3 separate regions of the Homo sapiens genome follow, and all the other regions are linked to region 3. The links are contacts of gene promoters, found by promoter capture Hi-C in human tissues and cell types (Jung and others, 2019). All regions are on one chromosome and are shown on one strand. Each heading gives the region's core, a stretch centred on a gene start or on the middle of the fragment in contact. The rest is flanking DNA. Distances are from core to core; before and after follow the strand shown.

Region 1 (2,963 bases), core at 458-2,957, 210 kb after region 3:
AAATAAATGAATAAAAGTTTATAACAGTGTTTATAGTTACAATTTATTAAGCACCTACTATGTGCAGCTGTTGTACCAAGAGTATCACATTGATTATCTCACTTAGTCCAATTAACAATCCTATGACATGGGCTATAATAACTAGCACTTATTGTGTGCCAGTTAACCTATTACATATATCACATTATTACACATATTATTTCACTTAATTCTCTCAGTAACTCGATGGCAAAGGTAATGTGATTATCCCCATTTTGCAGATGAAGGATCTGAGGCTCAGAGAGGTGTATTTTTCTGCTAGGGCTGCCGTAAGAAATGATACAAACTGGGTGCCTTTAACAACAGGAATTTATTTTTCTCACAGTTCTGGAGGCTGGAGGTCCAAGATTAAGGCGCCTCCAGGGTTGGCTTCTGATGAGGCCTCTTTTCCTGGCTTGCGGACAGCTGCCTTCTGGCTGTGTCCTCAAATGGCTTTTCATCTGTGCCAGGATGGAGAGAGACAGTTCTCTGATGTTTCTTCTTCTTTTTATAAGGACTTCAATCCTATTGGATTAGGGCCCCACCCCTTCAGCCTCATGTACCTTAATCACCTCCTTAAAGGCCCAATCTCCAAATACAGTCACATTGGGAGTTAAGGCTTCAATCTATGAATTTCAGGGAACACAATTCAGTCTATAACAAGAGGACTTTCTATCTATTGGGAGACTGAAAAACAACAACAACAACAACGACAACAGTAAGAGGGCATATAAAGTATCAGTGCAGTCCTGTCTTCCTGTTAATTCTCCAAAATAATTCCTAATGTCCCCAGTCAGCCTTTGAAAAATGCCTTCTTTCAGTGGCTAAGGCTGAGCCTTGCCATAGCCTACCCATCTCAGCAAACACAGATTATTCTTTCCTAGTGTGTGAAGGCTTCCACTGCTGCTATTAAAACAACTTAAAGCCAGGTACAGAGGCTCAAGCCTGTAATCCCAGCACTTTGGGAGGCTGAGTTGGGAGGATAGCTTGAGCCCAGGAGTTTGAGACCAGCTTGGGGAACACAGGAAGCCTTGTCTCTACAAAAAAATTTAAAATTAGCCAGGCCTGGTGGCGTGCACCTATGGTCCTAGCTACTAGGGAGGCTGAGGTGGGAGGATCGCTTAAGCCCAGGAGTTTGAGACCAGCCTGGGCAACATAGGGAGACCCTGTCTCTGCAAGTAATTTAAAAATTAGCCAGGCGTGGTGGCATGCACTTGTGGTCCTAGCTACTCGGGAGGCTGAGGTGGGAGGATTGCTTGAGTCTGGGAGATAGAGGCTGCAGTGAGCCATGACTGCACCACTGCACTCCAACCTGGGCGACAGAGTGAGGCTGTCTCAAAAACAAACAAACAAACAAAAACTTAAAAAAATGTTTTGTGTGCCTGCGTGTGCAGCAGTTAGAATGACAGCTGAGGTAAAACACGTATTACAAGCTTCTTCCTTGCTGTTGTTCTCTCATCTGCTTCCCCTTCCCGTTGCAGCAAGGAACCTGTCACCTGCACTGCCTGGTTTTGGTAGACAATGCCCAGGTGGCGGCGTCTTCCCTCTGACCTCACCACACCTGTGCCTCCGTGCTGCTGAAGCCCTCTCTGGGATAGGTTGGGACATTTGCTCCTGTCGCTTTCACACGTCTTTTAGTAACTCTTTTCTCTTTTCTTGTTTCAGCACATGAGAAACTTTCTCCTGCTCATCTGCTTTTGTTAACTAAATGCAGGAGCAGGCAGAGCTGTCTTTACTGCAGGAAGCCACACACACCTGCAGACCCGCCTCTGCCATCTGGTCCTTGCTTCTCCAGGTGTGGTCGGCATCCCTGGGAAGCTTGTTTACACAAGCTTCTGGGGTCTCACTTTCGGGGATTTTGATTCATAGGAATAAGGTGGACTTAGAAATCTGTGTTTTAATAAGCACCCCCAACCCTTCCTCAGAGATCTTACTATAAAGCTCAAGAACCATTCATTGGTCCAGGTTCATCTGGTCTAGGAGAGTATGAAAGGGAAGCGTAATGAAAGCACATGTTCACTCATGGCTGCCCTTGACTTCCTTTGGAATTCTCACTCCTTTTGGCCCCAGTTCCATGGGTCTTTGTACAACTGGCTGCTACCACCATGCCTGGCTCTGGGGCTCTTCCATTCCCTTGGCTTGGCTGTGGACAAATACATACTCTCTTTGGCCTGGTGCAGCTGTGGATGCCTGCCAATTGTTTTCTAGTCGTTGCTCTGCTGCTAAGAATTAGTTCACACCAAGTTTTGATCCCACTGATTGAGAAGAAGCCCAATCAGGGCTCCTGATTATGGTGGCTAAGAGCATGGTAGTTACGGTCTTGGCCATGGAAGTTGGAGGGACCTGAGTTTAAATCTCAGCCCCACTCAGTAACATGGCTGTGTGGTTTAAGTCAGACACAGGATCTTTTTGGGCCTCTACTTTCAGATCTGCAAAATAGGATGAAGATATTTTCTGTACCTATGTCAAAGAGTTGATGAGTGGGAAGAATGAAAACATATTCTAAAGGTAAGATTGTGACATGACTGTTGTGCTATAGAGAAAAATATTCAAATTGGTTGCCATGATCCCTTAGAAATTAAAAGACTCCAACATTCTTTTATGTTGAGAGAAATCCCCCAGTATTCTGGAAGTAGTGGGGAGGATGGAGAAATTTTCCTTTATGGGAAACTTAGAAAAAAAAAAGTTGAAATCAATGAAAGCTGACCACCTACCATGAAACTAAGATCAAAGCTGTTCTCTTTCAAATGCAAGAGGAGAAGTTAGCTGGTTGTGTTTGTCTTTCTTCATGTGGGGTGTCTTCTCAGGGCTTGCCACTTGCGGAGTGTGAGCCTAGACAGTGGTCAAGGCAAACCCATATCCTCCCTTGTAAAATGGGAAGGACAATTGCAGGGTCCATCTCAAATTTTATTTGTTAGTTGATAGACACCCATTGTCAGGAAGAA
Region 2 (3,144 bases), core at 517-3,016, 240 kb after region 3:
TTGTTCATTCATCTTGATAATATGTTGCATTTCATAAATGCTTTAGAATTTTTGAAATGCTTTCACATACTGTACAAGTTATTGTCAAAATACCAAGCACTGATCAACACTTCCTCTAGGGGCTTTTGGATGTATTTTAATTGTTTTAGGATGTGACCAACTTTGTGGAGCCGAGTTAGTTGGCTTCATTATTCCCCTGCAACATTTCCTTTGCACTCATTGATTTCCATGGCTACATGATGATTACTTCCTGAGAAACAAAGGAACACATGTGTTTGGAAGTCAAAAGGAAGCATACAGATCACCTATTGAACCATAACCCTGTAAAATGTGGTATAAATGGAAACTTTTCTTTTTATCATAGTGTGTTTGAAATGAAGGAATTCACATTAGTCATTCTCTCAGTTTCTACTCTACAATAGCTGTCCTTGTAAGGGGCCAGATTGTGTCAGGCCTTATAAACCAAATTAACTCCAAAAATTTTGTAAGATAAACTATTTACAACATCAAAATTTCTGAGTGGTGACCAATCCAGAAAAGTGACAGTAGGCAATGGGAAATTTGAAGACAAAGAATGGGTGGAGGAAGAAATAAATCACCACTCAAGCATACTGGTTCCATTTTACTACCTTATGAGTTATTGACTACTTTATTAATTATTTACTACATTGATTAATTATTCCAGCAAACATTTATTGAAAACTTTTCTGTAGGAGGTCCTGTACTAAGTGCTCTGAGAACTACAGAAGTGAATAACACCCAAAAGTGGTCTTCAAAGAATTCAGTTTAATATTGGAAATAAAGCATATATGTCCTATCCAAATTATGTCCTATGAGATGTACCATTCAGGACCTAGAGTGGTTTTGAAGAGGGGGCTGTCTGTGTTGAATCTTGAAGAACATATAGAAATCTGTTTACCAGGTAGACAGACGGAAGTGCATTCCAGATGAAAGGAACAGCATCTACAAATGCCCAGAGGTACCCAGGTCAGAGCTAATGAAGAAGAGCTAGGTAGAGATTGACCTGGAGAGAAAGAGCAGGTTGGGAATACCTGTGTGGGGATATTATCATTATTAGTAGGTGGGTGTTTGATGCATGGAAATTGACTTACAGTGGGAGGAGAGGGAAGTTAATGAGTTCAATTTTGGACATGATGATGGGATAGGATATTCTGGTGGAGATGTAATGTAGGTGTTAAAAATGAAGTTTGGCGCTTAGGGGAGAAGTGCAGTTGGAGATCTAGATTTGAGACTCATCAACACACAAGTGGAAGATGAACACACAGGACCCTAAAGTAAGAGGAAGGGAGAGTTGAGGACAGAATCATGGGAAACAACTACATTTAGAAGACAAACAGATGAAAAGGAACTTGGAAAGGAGGCTGAGAATGAGAAGCCGGGGGATATGAATAAAGACCACAAGAAAATAGCAGCTTCCCCCTTTATCCATGGTACAGTCCTTCTTTAGTGATGATTGGGGAATGTTGAAGCAGAATAGGAAACACTAAAGGAGTGTTTAATCCAGTCCTTTTTATTTGCATTACTTTCCTAGGAGTCAAGGCTCATTTTTCTTCGCCCCATGAATAAGCTCCAGGAGCCTGGGCAGACCAAATAGGCGGTTATTCCTGGGTTGCATGCCGGATGGAAAGTTCTAGGAGTCAGGTCAAAAGGGATGGTCCTGGATTGTGAAGCACCAATGAGCCAGGGAGGCCTATCACATAGTGGTTCTGAGCTCTAGAGTTAGGCAGATCTGTGTTCAGATCCTGACTCTAAGGTCCAGAGATGGATTCTTGCAGTAGGTGTGCAAGCCACCCTGGGTATAGGGTGCACATTCTCAGTCCAAGACCTCACGCCCCCGACAAGTTAATTTGGAATAAAAAAGAAATTTCTCCACTGACCTGTTGGCTTCTCAAAGGCTTGGCACATGGAAGGTCCTTAAATCTATAGTCTTTGTAAAATGATGAATGAGCACATAACAAACTTAAGAACAGTACATTGGAAATAACTTTATAATAAACAGGTGAACATTGTGGTCACCTAGCATTTTCATGGGCAACTTATCTTTTGGAAACTGATCATTGAACATCAGAGAAATATCCACATGTGTCCATTTGAAAAGATGTAGAGGAACAATCCTTTTCACCAGACCAAAAAATAGAAATCAGTTAATTAAAATAATTATCTTCAGTGGTACATAATAACTTTCCTCATTATGGCATAATACTAACGCTTCTATAGGGTTAATTACTTTCCTGGCACTATTCTGAAGACCTTATTTTCATTACTTAATTTAATCTCCCAACAAACTTATGAGACAGGAGCTTGTCTATTACGTAGAGAAGAAAACTCCGGGTATAGAAAAGTACCCAAGGCCACATCACTAATAAATAGCAGAGGTAGGATTTGAACCCAAGCAGTCTGACTCTAGAGTCTTTGAATATAACTGCTACACTACACAGAAGCCTCCCTTGATTCTGAGACCTGACCACATAGCTGGACCCATTTTGTTCATCACCTGGTATGGAAGGAAAGCTACATTGTGATGTGAAATGAGGCTTTCTCATCACGGCTTCTATGGGGGCAGGTGGGGTTGGGGCAGGTTATGGGTAATGTATTTGTGTTAAATTAGACAAGAAGCATGATAATCATTTATATGAACAGAAGTCATAATCACATGATGTTCTGATTTGACAATTTACCTCTCCCAGTCTCATAGGCAGGTGGCTTCAGCCCCTTGTCACAAGTTCTCATTCATAAACTAAAAGAGAGGCTCAGCACCTCTGGACAGGGCCAAAAAGCATGTACATTTTAGAAGTCTCCAGGGAGCATACTGACCCTGTCTGTCCTCGATGGCCCTGCTAGAGTGTTTTCTGAAGGGCCCTTGTATCTTCTAGTTGGTCTCCAGGGGCCCACACTGATTGTCCCTTATCTGAGAAGTAACTGAGAGAAATCTCAAAAGGAGTTGGGGAGAAGAGGCTCCAAGGCATAAAGTGGAAACATAGCCCCAGTCTTGAAGAGAATTTGAATCCAAAATGATTACAGGCATAACTTGGAGACATTGCAGGTTTGCTTCTAGACCATTGCAACAAAGCTAATATCACAATTAAATGAGTCACACAATTTTTTTTTGTTTCTCAGTGCATA
Region 3 (2,797 bases), core at 11-2,510:
CTTCCAAAGCCAGCCTACCCCCCCATCTCTGGCCCCACACACTACCCATACTACCCATCTTCTGACCCTCATCAACACACCCTTGTAGCTATCTCAATTCCCGTGGCATCCCAATCCGCTCCAATCAAGTCAAAGTTCCTTGGAAGGCAGACACATACTTTACATAGAGGGTCCAGCACAGTGCCCTGCACTTAGTAGGTGCTGGCTATTACTGATTAAAACCAGCAGGGGTTCAAATAACGTTTCTAGGGAGGGCAAGATAATACTGCCTATCTTCTTCCATTCGTAGTAAAAAGTATTCAGCGTTCACTACAAGCCTGAAAACGCCTAGCGTACGCAGATCAACGGTGCAGTGGAGAGGGCACGCCGCCGGATGGCAAAAAACCTGTGTCCTAATCCTGGTTTTGCCACAATCTCGGCAGTTGCTGGGAAATCAAGCCATCTCTCGGAGCTCCGGTTGTCTCCGACGTAAAACAAGGGAGCTGCTGTAGAGGATCCCGAGGTATCTTTTGGCTCCTAAATGTCCCCCGATAGGAAACCCCACACTCGTCTTCCAAGGCGGGAGGCAGGCAAACTTTTTTCCCAGCGCGGGCATTCCACACGGTCCTGGAAACTCAGTGCCCGGAGAAAAGGGCAGGGCTGAGGGCAAGGTGAGAAGCGGTCCCCCCGAAGTCGCCGGATTCCTTTACCCCACGGCTCGAGTCCGCCTCAGGTTCCCGGCCCCCTCACAGGCGGACTCCGGGAGAGTGACGCGGCGCGGCTCCCAGGTGCAGGCCGGGTGACTCTGTCCGCCCCTGCGCCCCCCGCACTAGTGGCACACGCCCCGTGGCCCCGGGTAGCGGCCCCGGCCCCTCACCAGCCCAAGGGACGTCCCCGACTCTGGACCAGGCCTCTGGCTCCCGCCTGGCGAGCCGCTCTTCCGGGCCCTGGGGCGGCCTCAGCGCGGCAGTACGGGCCCCAGGCCGGCGGGACGGGCGGCGTGAGGGGCAGCGGTGGCGGCTTTAAGTGCTGAATCACCACTTTGCAACCCGAGCGCCAAACCGCTGTGACCCACGGGGCCCGAGGGCCCGGGCGCTCCATTCCGCTTACCCACACAGGCGCTCCGGAGGCGGCAGGCGGGCGCCGAGGACTGAGCGGAAGGTGCTGGGCAGTGCGGGGTGCAGAAGCCACGCTAGCCGGTACCGCATTAGCCAGCGCAGTCGCCGGGATCACCGCAAACGCTTCCTGCTTGCGCTTCGAGCCGGCCCTGCGCACTGCGCATGCTCTAGCCGCGGCGCCGCGCGGTCTCCCGGGAGCTGCGGAGAGGTAGCTGCTCCGGGTTTTGCCTGGAGCCGGATGGGGCCAGGACGCAGGCGAGGACGGTGAAGACCGCGGACAGCCGAGGCCTGAGCAGGCGGACTGGAGGGACAGGGGTTTGGCCGGGGCGCTTTAGGAGCCAGCACCCAGACTTTCCCAGGCGGGGAGGGTCCCAGCTAGATCCCACCGGCCGCACTTGTGAGGGTGGCGACGTGTGTCTGACTGTGAGGGGGCGAGGGGCCGCTCATAAATCCAGTGAGGGCACACGGGGCTATGTTTTCTGAGGCACCCCCACTGACTAGCGTGCCGGACCCTGCAGGTGTTGGAACAAGGTTCGTGGTCGCGGCGGCCTCACGTAAAATGAATCCGCGGCCGGCGCGCGGCCCGCGGGCTCCCTCTAGAGCGCGGTGGGGACGTGGACCGCGAAGGCACAGATGCGCTGGAGACAAGGCTCGAGTGCGGCGTGGGGGAAATTCAGACGCAGGGGTCAGCGATAGAGAGGCCAGGACCCAGGGGGACGTTTCCATCCTTGGGGAAGTTAGCAGCTCTCTTAAGAGGAAGGTGCGGATGGGACGGGCGCCGCAGCAAAACAAGGCTTCAAATCCAGAGTAGAAACTACTACTCTTGTTAGTACTCCGTACTAGGAATACTACTAATGTCAGTCGGCTTCAGTGGTTACTTTTTAAACAAAGAATTTTCTCCCCAGTGGCTTTATGGGGCTTTGCACCCACGAACAACTTAATAGTTGTTATGAATCTAACTTTCCATAATACCTTATGGGAGTCTTTAAGGAAGAATGCTATTAGGGATGGTGACTTGCCAGCTTAAGTACTTTTAGGTTTCTGATTGACAGACGATCAAGACTGCAGCCAAAAACGGTGTCCTTAGTCCAAGTATTGCTTTAAATGGGAATTCAGTAGGAGGGTTCCTTAATCAAGTTGATGCTTTATCGAAGACGTACCCACGATCTTTTTAACAGTGCGGTTTCACCTAAAGGCAAACCTTTGGATGAAAACAGGTAAAAATTATGGCAAGCCTCCTAGTGGTGTTTGCAAGTGCATGGTTTTAAGAACCTTTAAATTACCAGTCCCAATGCAGAGTAGTCAATCACCTTGAAGCAGCTCCTCTGAGAGTGTTAATGCAGCCTTTCTGAATACATTTATGCTCCATTAATGGAATCTATAAATGGGCTGGGGTAGATTCAGACTTGGAGGGCTTGAAACATATACAATTTGGGGGACCTCTTTGAGACATAAAATACAAATTATAAATACAAAATTAGCAATCAGAAGATTACTATAGAGAGAAAATACATCACAACAAATACTCGAGACTTGGAGATTAGTACCCTTTTTTTTCCTGAGATCTCTTTAGGCTACTTATTAGAAATGCTTACATAAAAATGCTTCCAGATGGCCGGGCGTGGTGGCTCATGCCTGTAATCCCAGCACTTTGGGAGGCCAAGCCGGGCGGATAACGAGATCAGGAGTTCGAGACCAGC

Evidence for each region. The method cuts DNA at HindIII sites, captures the fragments that hold promoters and counts their contacts. A contact is called where the count stands out against the background at its distance.
Region 1: a fragment that was not itself captured here is called in contact with the fragment with the promoter of IDE in region 3 in 2 of the 25 tissues and cell types used here (mesenchymal stem cells and spleen).
Region 2: a fragment that was not itself captured here is called in contact with the fragment with the promoter of IDE in region 3 in 1 of the 25 tissues and cell types used here (spleen).

What each region holds. Positions count from the first base shown.
Region 1 is chr10:92,786,166-92,789,128 of GRCh38, forward strand. No RefSeq gene overlaps it. Among named protein-coding and RNA genes, the nearest start is that of EXOC6, 61 kb to the right of the region's middle. The HindIII fragment of the contact is 4,952 bases long and covers 1-2,963 here.
Region 2 is chr10:92,816,021-92,819,164 of GRCh38, forward strand. No RefSeq gene overlaps it. Among named protein-coding and RNA genes, the nearest start is that of EXOC6, 31 kb to the right of the region's middle. The HindIII fragment of the contact is 4,911 bases long and covers 1-3,144 here.
Region 3 is chr10:92,572,833-92,575,629 of GRCh38, forward strand. It overlaps IDE (insulin degrading enzyme), which reads right to left and starts at 1,261. Exons shown (of 25, transcript NM_004969.4): 1 at 1,090-1,261. The coding sequence starts at 1,187. RefSeq lists a silencer at 661-1,110 and enhancers at 1,611-1,670, 1,681-1,920. The HindIII fragment of the contact is 24,485 bases long and covers 1-2,797 here.